Regions from separate parts of the Homo sapiens genome. Here regions 1, 2 and 3 are each linked to region 4. The links are contacts of gene promoters, found by promoter capture Hi-C in human tissues and cell types (Jung and others, 2019). All regions are on one chromosome and are shown on one strand. The core of a region is centred on a gene start or on the middle of the fragment in contact, and the rest is flanking DNA. Distances in the headings are between cores, read along the strand shown.

Region 1 (2,700 bases), core at 173-2,672, 170 kb after region 4:
AACCCTGTCTCTACTAAAAATACAAAAATTAGCTGGGTGTGGTGGTGTGCACCTGTAATCCCAGCTACTCGGGAGGCCGAGGCAGGAGAATTGCTTGAATCCGGGAGGCGGAGGTTGCAGTGAGCCAAGATTGCACCACTGCCCTCCAGCCTGGCGACAGAGCAAGACTTCAACTAAAAAGAAAAAAAAATAATAATAATAATAATAATTTTTGGCTGGGCACGGTGGCTCACACCTGCAATCCCAGCACTTTGGGAGGCCAAGGCAGGTGGATCACCTGAGGTCAGGAGTTCGAGACCAGCCTCAACATGGAGAAACCCCGTCTCTACTAAAAATGCAAAATTAGCTGGGCGTGGTGGTGCATGCCTGTAGTCCCAGCTACTCAGGAGGCTGAGGCAGGAGAATTGCTTGAACCTGTCAGGCAGAGGTTGCAGTGAGCCGAGATCGCGCCATTGCACTCCAGCCTGGGCAACAAGAGCGAAACTCCGTTTCAAAATAAATAAATAAATAATAATAATAATAATTTTTAAATAGCATAGTTTCATCATAATGATCAAGTGAAGGTGCAAAAAAACATGGGAGGAAACCTCCCCACCCCTACAAATTGGCAGGTGATGGTGGGGATTAACCAATAAAAAAAAGCCCATAGGAGAAAACAGTTATTGTCAACCTTCTTCCTAACCCATACCACCCCTGAGGTTCCATATTCCTTTGGAATAGTTCCCTAGGTATAAAGGAGCTCCCGGACTCCTTTCTAATGCCACTTACAAAAAAAGTAAGAGGTGGTCACAAAATTTAAATGGCACTAACTAGAAGTATGGTGTGGTGGCCACGTATTCCTTTTTTTTTTTTTTTTTTTGAGACAGAGTCTTGCTCTGTCGCCCAGGCTGGAGTGCGGTGGTGCGATCTCGGCTCACTGCAACCTCCACCCGGGGAGGGTTCAAGCAATTCTCCTGTCTCAGCCTCCCTAGTAGCTGGGATTACAGGCGCACGCTACCACGCCTGGCTAATTTTTGTATTTTTAGTAGAGATGGGGTTTGGCCATGTTGGCCAGGCTGGTCTCGAACTCCTGACCTCAGGTGATCCACCTGCCTCAGCCTCCCAAAGTGTTGGGATTACAAGTGTAAGCCACCGCACCTGGGTGGCCATGTATTCCTAATCAAAAGTCTAGACACATGATTTGACAAATGGGAGTATATGTAAAGGGCCAATGGGCAGTGTTTAAACTGTCCTTCTCTTAACAGTCTTGGCTAAATACATGTTATACGTGGCTCTCGCACTGAAAACAGGAGGGTGATTCTCAAGGGGACCTCCACGTCACAGCTGAGGAAATACACTTCCCTAGGAACTGAGGAAAGAATGCCCAGTGCTTATACAAATTCCCCTGTTCCAAACTACACAATAGTAACCAACATAAAGTTACAACATAAAGGAGACATCTTCAGAATAGACAACAGATTAGAATGAAGTAATTACTTACCAGAGTTTTAAGAATAATCTTAACTGGCAGATAATGTCTGGATGTATCAATCAAAATTCCTCTGTGAGAAAACCTTGGAGAATCAATAATGGTGGATTCATTGATGGTGAACTATGACAAAATAAAATTTTGATTTAGTTTTAGAATTTTCTGTTGTCTTGAACTCAATGAAGACTAAATCTATTTATACAAGCATTTCATAAAATATTAATTTAGAACAACAAAAATGTATGAAATTTACATTTACCGGCTAAGACAAATATCTGGGGAAATGAAATCTTCAGGAAGCAATAGCTAAACAGGTTACATTTTTTTCTATTAGCAATTTGTCTAACAATTTTTAGTAACATATAATAATCATACTTACAGTTCCATAAGAATCTTGATAAACTAACTGGCTAAAGGTCTCTAAACCTGAGGAAAGTAAAATTTATTGCATTAATTTATAAATCAACAAATTGAGATGATAAAAGTTATATTATTCAAACAGACTCATAACCAGGTAAGGCAAATATAATTGAATATAGTGTTATACCTCTATCCTCTAAAATATATTGTTATACCTACACCCTCTACCATAATTTCTAAAATCAAAGCCAAATTAAAAAAAAATCCATTGCACTTCTCTACTCATCTAATAAAAGTGCTTTACTTCATTGTACCCATACCCTGGGGGTTGTTTCAATATAGACAAAAGAAGAATAGTAATTTAATAAAATACTGGTTCCTTAATAAATTTATGGCATCATGAGAAAGAATTTTTATAATCAAATATAGTCACTTTTAGAAGGTATCTAAATGCAACAGGGAAAAATGGCTGGAAAAACCATGAAACTATAAATAAAGGCCAATTTACAATATACAGCATTTTACTTATAGCTGCAAAGACTACCTTCTGAACATTTTTTACTCAAGTGGATTATTCCCTTAATATACTAGTTGACAGGCTAATTCTTCTAACTGGCCTTGACTTTATTCAGATTCCTCATTCTAGCTGACAGCTATATAGCCAGGGAATTTTTAACCTAAGAACAGTTCAGTCATCTTTGCTACGCCTTCCTGTCTCTCCAACCTCGTCAAGTACAGGTTCATGCTGGGAAGAATAACTCTGAAAGTTTCTGTTAAGTGACATTACGTTCAATAATGATCAGTTTAGAGTACATTACTCTGAAAGTCTGATGGTAAACAGAAAATATGGACTTCTTGGACTAGAAATCTAG
Region 2 (2,700 bases), core at 14-2,513, 190 kb after region 4:
GTGTCTGCCACCATGCCCAGCTAATTTTTTGTATTTTTAGTAAAGACGGGGTTTCACCATGTTGGCCAGGCTGGTCTCGAACTCCTGACCTCAGGTGATCCACCCTCCTGGGCCTCCCAAAGTGCTGGGATTACAGGTGTGAGCCACTGCTCCTGGCTGCACTATTTAAATCGTTATAATTTTGAGTTATGCTTTGATATCTTGAAGAGCATGCACACACATTGTTTTATTTCTAAAATTTCTTCCTATTTTAAATAATTTTTCCTTCCACATACAGAGCGATATAATGGACTGTGGAGACTCAGAAAGGGGAGGGTGGGAAAGGAGCTAAAAAAACTACACATTAGGTACATTGTGCACTACTCAGGTGACCAGTGCACTAAAATCTCAGAATTCACTGCTATATAATTAATCCTTTTAACAAAAAACCACTTGTACCCCAAAAGCTACTGGAATAAAGCATAAAAAATAATAATAAAAAAAGACTTAATTTGAGGTAGTTTCTTTGGAAAATAATTCCAAAAAGAAGCAGTGACAGTGGGGAGAGCGAGACAGGAAAGGAAGAAGATTAAATAAAGACCTGTTATGAAGGTGCACTGTTGAATTGCTGGTGTTGGCAAAGAGAGCTGAACTTGGCATGGACCTCTGAGAGTAGTACCAAAAAAAAAAAAAAAAAAAAAAAGAAGAAGAAGAAAAGAAATGCAAACTGTTTAATAGAATGCAATACAGCTGTCCTGCCCCAATAGAATCTGAGAGTAAAACTGATATTTATCATATTTCTCCTTTACCACCAGAGAAAATGAAAATATCTCAGAGCAGTCTGACCTATGTGAAATCTGCAGGCCCAGAGAGGCAAGAGTTTGGAACTTAGTCATGCAAATGTGTAACTGGCCTCCCTTTATGCTTGGGGGCAATTGTTTATTTTGTTTTTTTCTAGCTGCTTCATTCATTATCTTCATGTTTCTGGAATTTGTGATGCAAAGAACAACGTATGCTGGGTGCGGTGACTCATGTAATCCCAGCACTTTGGGAGGCTGAGGCGGGTAGATCACGAGGTCAGGATATCGAGACCATCCTGGCCAACATGTTGAAACCCCATCTCTACTAAAAATACAAAAATTAATGGGGTGTGGTGGCGGGCGCCTGTAATCCCAGTTACTCGGGAGGCTGAGGCAGGAGAATGGCATGAACCCAGGAGGTGGAGTTTGCAGTGAGCCGAGATCCCGCCACTGCACTCCAGCCTGGGTGACAGAGTGAGACTCCGTCTCAAACAAAACAAAACAAAACAAACAAAAAACCAGAGAACAATGTATAGCCAATCAATAGCTTATGTTATTTTAATGTAAATTCTGGATAAACAACTAGGAACTGCCCCTTCTTCCACCTTCCCGCACCGCTCCCCTTTTTTTTGAGAGAATCTCATCTGTCATGAAGGCTGGAGTGAAGTGGTGCAATCTCAGCTCACTGCAACCTCCGCCTCCCAGGTTCAGGCACTACCCCTGCCTCAGCCTCCCGAGTAGCTGGAATCACAGGCATGTGCCACCACGCCCAGCTAATTTTTGTATTTTTACTACAGTCAGGGTTTCACAATGTTGGCCAGGCTGGTCTTGAACTCCTGGCTGAAGCGATCCACCCACCTTGGCTCCCAAAGTGCTGGGATTACAGGAGTGAGCCACTGCACCCAGCCCCTTCTTGCCCTTTAAAAATTTGCATGTGGGCATGGTGGCTCATGCCTAAAGTCCCAGCACTTTGGACTGGCACTTCAGTCCAGAAGCTGAGGTGGGAAGATTAATTGCTTGAGGCCAGGAGTTTGAGACCAGCCTGGGCAACATAGTGAGACACCGTCTTTACAAGAAATAAAGTGCACTTGTAACTGTTCGTAATCAGAGTGTATATTCAGGGCAATTTGAATCTATGCTCCTGGGTTGCACTACTCAAGCTTGGCCCAAATAAACTCCTCTACTTGTATTAATAATAATAATAACAAAAATAATTTTTCCTTACATATGAAATTAAAGACTTGATTGACAAGGTCCAAAACAAAAAACAAAAACTGCTATTGATAGGAATTGCATTCACATTATAGCTCAATTCAGAGAAAACTGACATCTTTGCCATATTGGGGCTTTCCACTTAGAAATACTTTCTGTTAATTTATAAAGTTATTTTATGCTTGTCACCAAAGTCTTATACTCTACCTAGGTCTTTCACATTTCCTGTTAGGCATGCTTCATTCTTTTTGTTGCTGCTATTCATAAGATTCCCTCCCCACTCAATTTCCTCTGAGAGATTATACAAGAATGAAGTAGAACTTTAGGTGTTGGCCTGGAGAGATCTTTCCACTTGCTGCTTATACCACCACCTCACCCCCCGACCCCAGTCAGCTGTGGAAACACAGCTAACAAAGTCATCTTTGTAAAATGTAAAGTCAGTCATATCACTTCCTTGCTTAAAACATTTCAATGGCTTGTTCCCCATTGTCTTTAGAATAAAATATAGGATCCTTAATATGGCCTGCACAGTGTGGCAGAATCTGGCATCTGACCACCTCTCTGACCACATCACTTGCACCCTCAGTTGTGTGCTCCAGGGGCAGTGACCTTCATTTACTTAAATCCACTGAGCTTTCTCCTCCCTCACAGAATGGCCTCACATAATAGCAAAATGAGGAGGAGAAAGAGAACTAGTGGAGCCTCTTGT
Region 3 (2,700 bases), core at 82-2,581, 140 kb after region 4:
GTTCGAGACCAGCCTGGCCAATATGGTGACCCCGTTTCTACTAAAAATACAAAAACTAGCTGGGAATGGTGGCGAGTGCCTATAATCCCAGCTACTCAGGAGGATGAGGCAGGAGAATTGCTTGAATCCCAGAGGCGAAGTTGCAGTGAGCTGAGATCGTGCCATTACACTCCAACCCAGGCAACAGAGTGAGACGCCATCTCAAAAAAAAAAAAAAAAAAAAAAAAAAGAAACCCCCACACATAAAAGAATATTAACTCATAATAAAATTAAATCAGAAAACCATGAGAAAAAGCACAATGAGCAAAAAGGCAATAGAAACAATAGGTAGTCATACCAGCAAAGGCTTCAGTTATTGGAATTATGAGATGTAGAATATAAAATACTATCTTTGAAGAAATAAGAGAGGCGATAGAAAGTACAGTTGACCCTTGAACAACATGGGTTTAAAGTATGTATGCAGGTACACTTACACATGGATTATTGTCCTGCCTTTGCCATCCCTCAGACAGCAAGCCAAACCCCTCCTTTTCTTACTCCTCAGGCTATTCAGTGCAAAGATGACGAGGATAAAGACCTTTATGATGTTCTACTTTTACTTAATAAATAGTAAATATATTTTCTCTTACGATTTTCTTGGTAACTTTTTTTTCTAGTTTATTGTAAAAATACAATATAAAATACATGTAACGTGTTAATTGACTGTTTATTTGTTGGTAAGTCTTCCTGTTAACAGTATTCTATAGTAGTTAAGTTTCAGGGGAGTCAAAATTTAGGCATGTATTTTTTACTGCATGGGGGTTTAGCACGCCTAGCCCCCACATTATTCAAGGGCCACTTGTGTTAGTAAGGAACAAGAAACGATCAAAAATAGGTGCGATGGGCATGATCTCACATATGTGGAACTTTTAAAAGTCTAACTTGTAGAAGAGTAGAATGATGGCTACCAGAGGCTGAGGATTGGAAAGCTGGGGAAAGGAGAGATGTTGATGAAGTGGGGTACGGAGTTTCAGCTGGACAGGAGAAATAGGTTCTCATGATCTGTTACACAGCACAGTGACTATAGTTAATAATTTATATTTTAAATCTCAGTACAAAGAAATAAGTTTTTTGACATGATAGATGTTAATTTGCCTGATTTTTATCATTCCACGATGTATACATGTATTGAAACATCACATACCCCATAAATATATACAATTATTTGTTAATTAAAAATGAAATAAAACATAAGAAAGGATAATGGAATATCATGCTATGTGTGAGAGAGGAAATGGTCAAAAAATGATGGTGAGGGGGTATATAAGGACACAGGAACCAGCTTGAAGAGACTCTGCTGGCCAAATCTGGATTAATTTGAATACCAAGTATAGACCATTGGGAAAAAATAGTTTCTAAGTTCATACTTATAATAATACATAGGTAAATAGGGAAGAAGAGGGAGGGGTCTTCCTCATAGTGGAATGCCAAGTGCTGACTGTTAGAAGTTGGGGAGTAGGGCTGGAGTCGGAAAATAGTGCAGACGACTCTCCCAAACACATAGAACAAAAAAGTTGCCGTATACATATGGCATAACAAATTTAAAATGAAGCAGAAGTAAACTATTGCTTAGAAATACATGCATATGTGATATAACACTAAAGAAAATAATGAGGATAACATATGATAGTGGTTGCTTCAGAAGGCATCTAAATATTGGTAATACTCTCTTTAGTAGTTTTAGGTTTCATGAATGCTCATTTTTAGCTTGTACATAAATATGTATATACTCATATATAAACGTATATTTATATATAAACATGTATATATTGAGACAATGTCTTGCTCTGTTGAGCAGGCTGGCATACAATGGCAAGATCTTAGCTGACTGTAGCCTTGAACTCCTGGGCTCCAGCAATCCTCCCGCCTCAGTCTCCCAAGTAGCTAGGACTACAGGTGTGCACTACCATACTCAGCTAATTTTTATTATTTTTTACAGAGACGGAGTCTTGCTATATTGCCCAGGCTAGTCTCAAATTCCTGGCCTCAAGTAATCCTCCCACTTTGGCTTCCCAAAGTGCTGGGTGGGATTACAGGTGTAAGCCACCACATCCAGCCTGTATAATTTTAAATAGAAAATGTTTCACAGTATAAAACGTAAGCATACAAAGGAATTATGAAGAATTATAGACTATAATTCTTAGTTTTGAATTTGGGCCATGAATCACTGCATTACATGGTCCCTCACATAAATATGGCATAGTTTTGTTTTAGTAAAATATTGGAGATTGGTAACAGACATAGTAAAATATTGGAGATTGTTGGTTTTTAGCAAATAAGAGATGCTGTTTTCAATCTTACCAAAAACACTTTACTGGTTTTTTGGGAAAGAAATTGTAAACAGTAAGTGCATAAAATATTGCTGGAAAAATACACAATATAAAACATTTTGTGGGTTGTCAGGATTTAAAGTCGTTTAATTTTCATTAGCTTACCTTTTATATTTGTAAAGGTTTTATCATTTAATTTTTTTAATATAAAAGTTTGTAACTAAGAGGATTTCAATCACCTACAAGACATTTTGAAAAGTTTAAAAGTATAATCTTCGTAACATGTGCCTCAACATATCTTAATGTTAAAACAATAGGTGATACAGAGCAGGTTTTTAACATTGATCAACACAGAAGCAGATGCTTTGTTGGTAGAGCTCTTTACTCTGAT
Region 4 (2,700 bases), core at 189-2,688:
TAGCTTTACACTAAGGCCTGAGGCTTCAACATCTGTAGGGCATAGTCTGGTAGCCAAAGCTTCCCCAAATGGCAATTGTTTGGGATTACCCTGGGGACTCCTACTTACACATAGCTCTAGAAATGTAAATACAAGTCATATAATTTCATTCATCACTGGCTATGGGTAGAACCCAACTACCCAAAATTCCTGCTCTATTAAATCTAATTCATTAAGTTTCATTAAAATGGTAAATGATGTGTAATAGTAAAGATTTTGGCTAATTAAATATTATACAAATGAAACAATAGATTCTTATATGGCAGAAAAGCTTTTTTTAAAAATCAGGGTCAAATATATCTATATCAACAAGCATTCTTTGAAGTATTTTTTGATCTTGCTAATTTTGCTAATCATTAGTAAATTCGTGAAAGTTGGTATTGTGATTGCTAAATATTTCCCAGGAATGAAAGAAGCAATTTTCAACTTTTCTGGATGAGCTGAACATAATACTACGGTTCTTGGATGATGAGTAAAAGAAAGTCTTGACATTAATACTTAGATACAATATTGTTTCTCAATACAGTTATTAAATATATTTAGACTACAATACGCATTACCTTAAAGACAATTTATCATGTTTTAAATGCTGGAGGGCTAATTTTCAGTAGGAGTGTGTAATTAGCAAAGGCGCCAGAGGCCATAAGACGGTAGAATAGAGCTGGGAGAGGCACGGGAGGAAAGCCGGATGGAACCCTGTTGTCTTTCTGGGTCAGGGTTATTCTGTACCGGTTAAACGGTGAAAGAGAAAAGGTCAGCGCAGGAATGTGGTATTTCCCTGACATCTCCAGATGAAAGTCCGGGCTCTAGGACTTCTGTAGACTGTGAAAGCAGCCCACGATTCTAACTTGCATGCACCTAAGTGGCAGTAGGTTTAGGATGAAAGTGGTGGGGCGGAGGCCGGCGGTCCTCGCCCGTGCCCTCTGCACCCCTGTCCCGAGGCCGGGATGGCCGCGCCCACTCTGGGTAAATTTCAGGAGGGCCTACGCGGGGCTGGAGAACTCCACCGGGCTATGCGAACAGAATCCTGCGAAGGTCGGCATTAAAGGAATACGCAAAATCAGCGTTGCAGCCCCCGCGGCTTAACCGCATCTATTTTTATATCTAAGCCAAGGTCACTCTTTAATACCAGGCCATTGCCCTGAGCTGGGCGTCGCGCTGCCGGGTGACGGCGGCCGGGGCGGAGAGAGGGGGCGCGGGTGGCGAGGCGGGGGCCGCGTGACGCCCCCGGGCTGGCCAAGCCCGCACCTGCCGGGCCGGCGCCTGAAAGCCGGGGCTGGAGGGAGGCAGGGCGGCGTCCCAGGCTCCGAGGAGGGGCCGCTCCGCGCTGGCGGGCGGGGGGATTCGCGGTGGGCGCGGGCGCGGAGCGGAAGCGAAGGCTGGAGGCGCTGCGGCGCTAGTGCGTCACGTCGTCGGAGGGCACGGTGGGCCGCGGCCGACCCGCGACGAGGAGCCGGGCGTCCGGGGCGAGCGGGAGGCAGCCGCACTCGCCCTGGCAGCCGCGAGCTGTGCGGCCTGGGACCGGCCGGAGGTCGCCAGCGAGCAGCCGCCGGCTCCATTCATTCGCGCGGCTCCGCCTCCTTTCCCGGGCTCTTCCAGCGGCTCCCGGGGCGCGTCTGAGGTGAGTGCGCTCCCTCTCCCCGGCGCGGACCGCTGGGTGAGGCCGAGACGGCCGCGCCGGGCCCCGCGCCCCCGCCAGCACCAGACCCGCGGACACCGAGCGGCGACGCGGGCCACCGGCTGTGGGCGGCCCCTGCGGGCTGGGCCTGGCGCAGACCAGTGCGGGCCGCCTGGACCCGGGGCTCGCGTCCAGCTGGCGGCGGTCTGCGGGGATCCCGTAGGGCGTGTGGCGCCCCCAGGTGCGCCGGCCTCCGCCTCGGCGCCACCATTTTGTGTGAGGGAATGCCCGTCTTCGCTCGCCTCCGCCGCGGGCCGGTTCGCAGCTGCGGCTTGCCGCCCCCTCCCCTCGCCCTCTCCCCACCTGGATGCTTGGCGTGCGAGCTGATTGCTTTGGCTTGGGGAGACGCGGACTCGGGGAGGTGTGGAACTTCAGCGTTTAGACTCGGTTCACCCGACCAGGTGGCCTCCAGAGATGCTCTGACCGCCTTCCTTTACCTGTAACTACTTTTGGAACAGATATTGTATGATTCTCCCTCCTCTGGAATGCTGGTCGTTGCAGTTTTGTCCTAATTGTGTTCTCAGCTCTCCATTATGCCATTTTTCAAGAGGCCTGTGCCTCAGGAGGTGAAGCCTTGAACCCTGGGTGGTTTATGGCTCGGGGGTCTGGATTACACTGACTCCCATGACTGTCCTTGGGGAGAAAGGATGAAGCATCTCACTGGCTTTTCAGCGTCTGGGAAGCGGCGTGGGTATCGTATCGGGTGGATTCGAAGATAACCACCTGATGCAGGTCACCTTCCCCCGCTGGGAGAGCCGTTCCTAACGTAAATTAAAACGTGTGTACGGGTTTTTGGGGGATTGGGACCGGAGGGACATATTTCTAAAAAATTTCCAGAAGGGAAAGTTTTCATTGTGATTCTCACAGAACTGTGACACAATTTGTCATTTTCAAGGTTCCTGAGAATTTGGGAATTCTTTTAATTCGTTGGCTTCTTGCGAATTACTACTTACGAACTGAGCAGATTATACCCAAGCCATTTA

What was found. Contacts are between HindIII fragments. The study calls those that stand out against the background at their distance.
Region 1: a contact is called between a fragment that was not itself captured here and the fragment with the promoter of FAM169A in region 4, in 2 of the 25 tissues and cell types used here (dorsolateral prefrontal cortex and hippocampus).
Region 2: a contact is called between a fragment that was not itself captured here and the fragment with the promoter of FAM169A in region 4, in 1 of the 25 tissues and cell types used here (heart right ventricle).
Region 3: a contact is called between a fragment that was not itself captured here and the fragment with the promoter of FAM169A in region 4, in 2 of the 25 tissues and cell types used here (dorsolateral prefrontal cortex and hippocampus).

The regions. Positions count from the first base shown.
Region 1 is chr5:74,695,887-74,698,586 of GRCh38, reverse strand. It overlaps HEXB (hexosaminidase subunit beta), which reads right to left. Exons shown (of 14, transcript NM_000521.4): 4 at 1,848-1,894; 5 at 1,481-1,591. Among named protein-coding and RNA genes, the nearest start is that of HEXB, 12 kb to the right of the region's middle. The HindIII fragment of the contact is 9,009 bases long and covers 1-2,700 here.
Region 2 is chr5:74,675,473-74,678,172 of GRCh38, reverse strand. It overlaps a transcript of HEXB not described here. Among named protein-coding and RNA genes, the nearest start is that of HEXB, 8.4 kb to the left of the region's middle. RefSeq lists a silencer at 1-37. The HindIII fragment of the contact is 6,960 bases long and covers 1-2,700 here.
Region 3 is chr5:74,726,278-74,728,977 of GRCh38, reverse strand. All of the region lies in intron 17 of GFM2 (GTP dependent ribosome recycling factor mitochondrial 2), which reads left to right. Among named protein-coding and RNA genes, the nearest start is that of GFM2, 39 kb to the left of the region's middle. The HindIII fragment of the contact is 8,588 bases long and covers 1-2,700 here.
Region 4 is chr5:74,865,125-74,867,824 of GRCh38, reverse strand. It overlaps FAM169A (family with sequence similarity 169 member A), which reads left to right and starts at 1,438. Exons shown (of 13, transcript NM_001376049.1): 1 at 1,438-1,660. It overlaps FAM169A-AS1 (FAM169A antisense RNA 1), which reads right to left and starts at 1,932. Exons shown (of 1, transcript NR_134288.1): 1 at 550-1,932. RefSeq lists silencers at 1,502-1,751, 1,822-1,991. The HindIII fragment of the contact is 6,065 bases long and covers 1-2,700 here.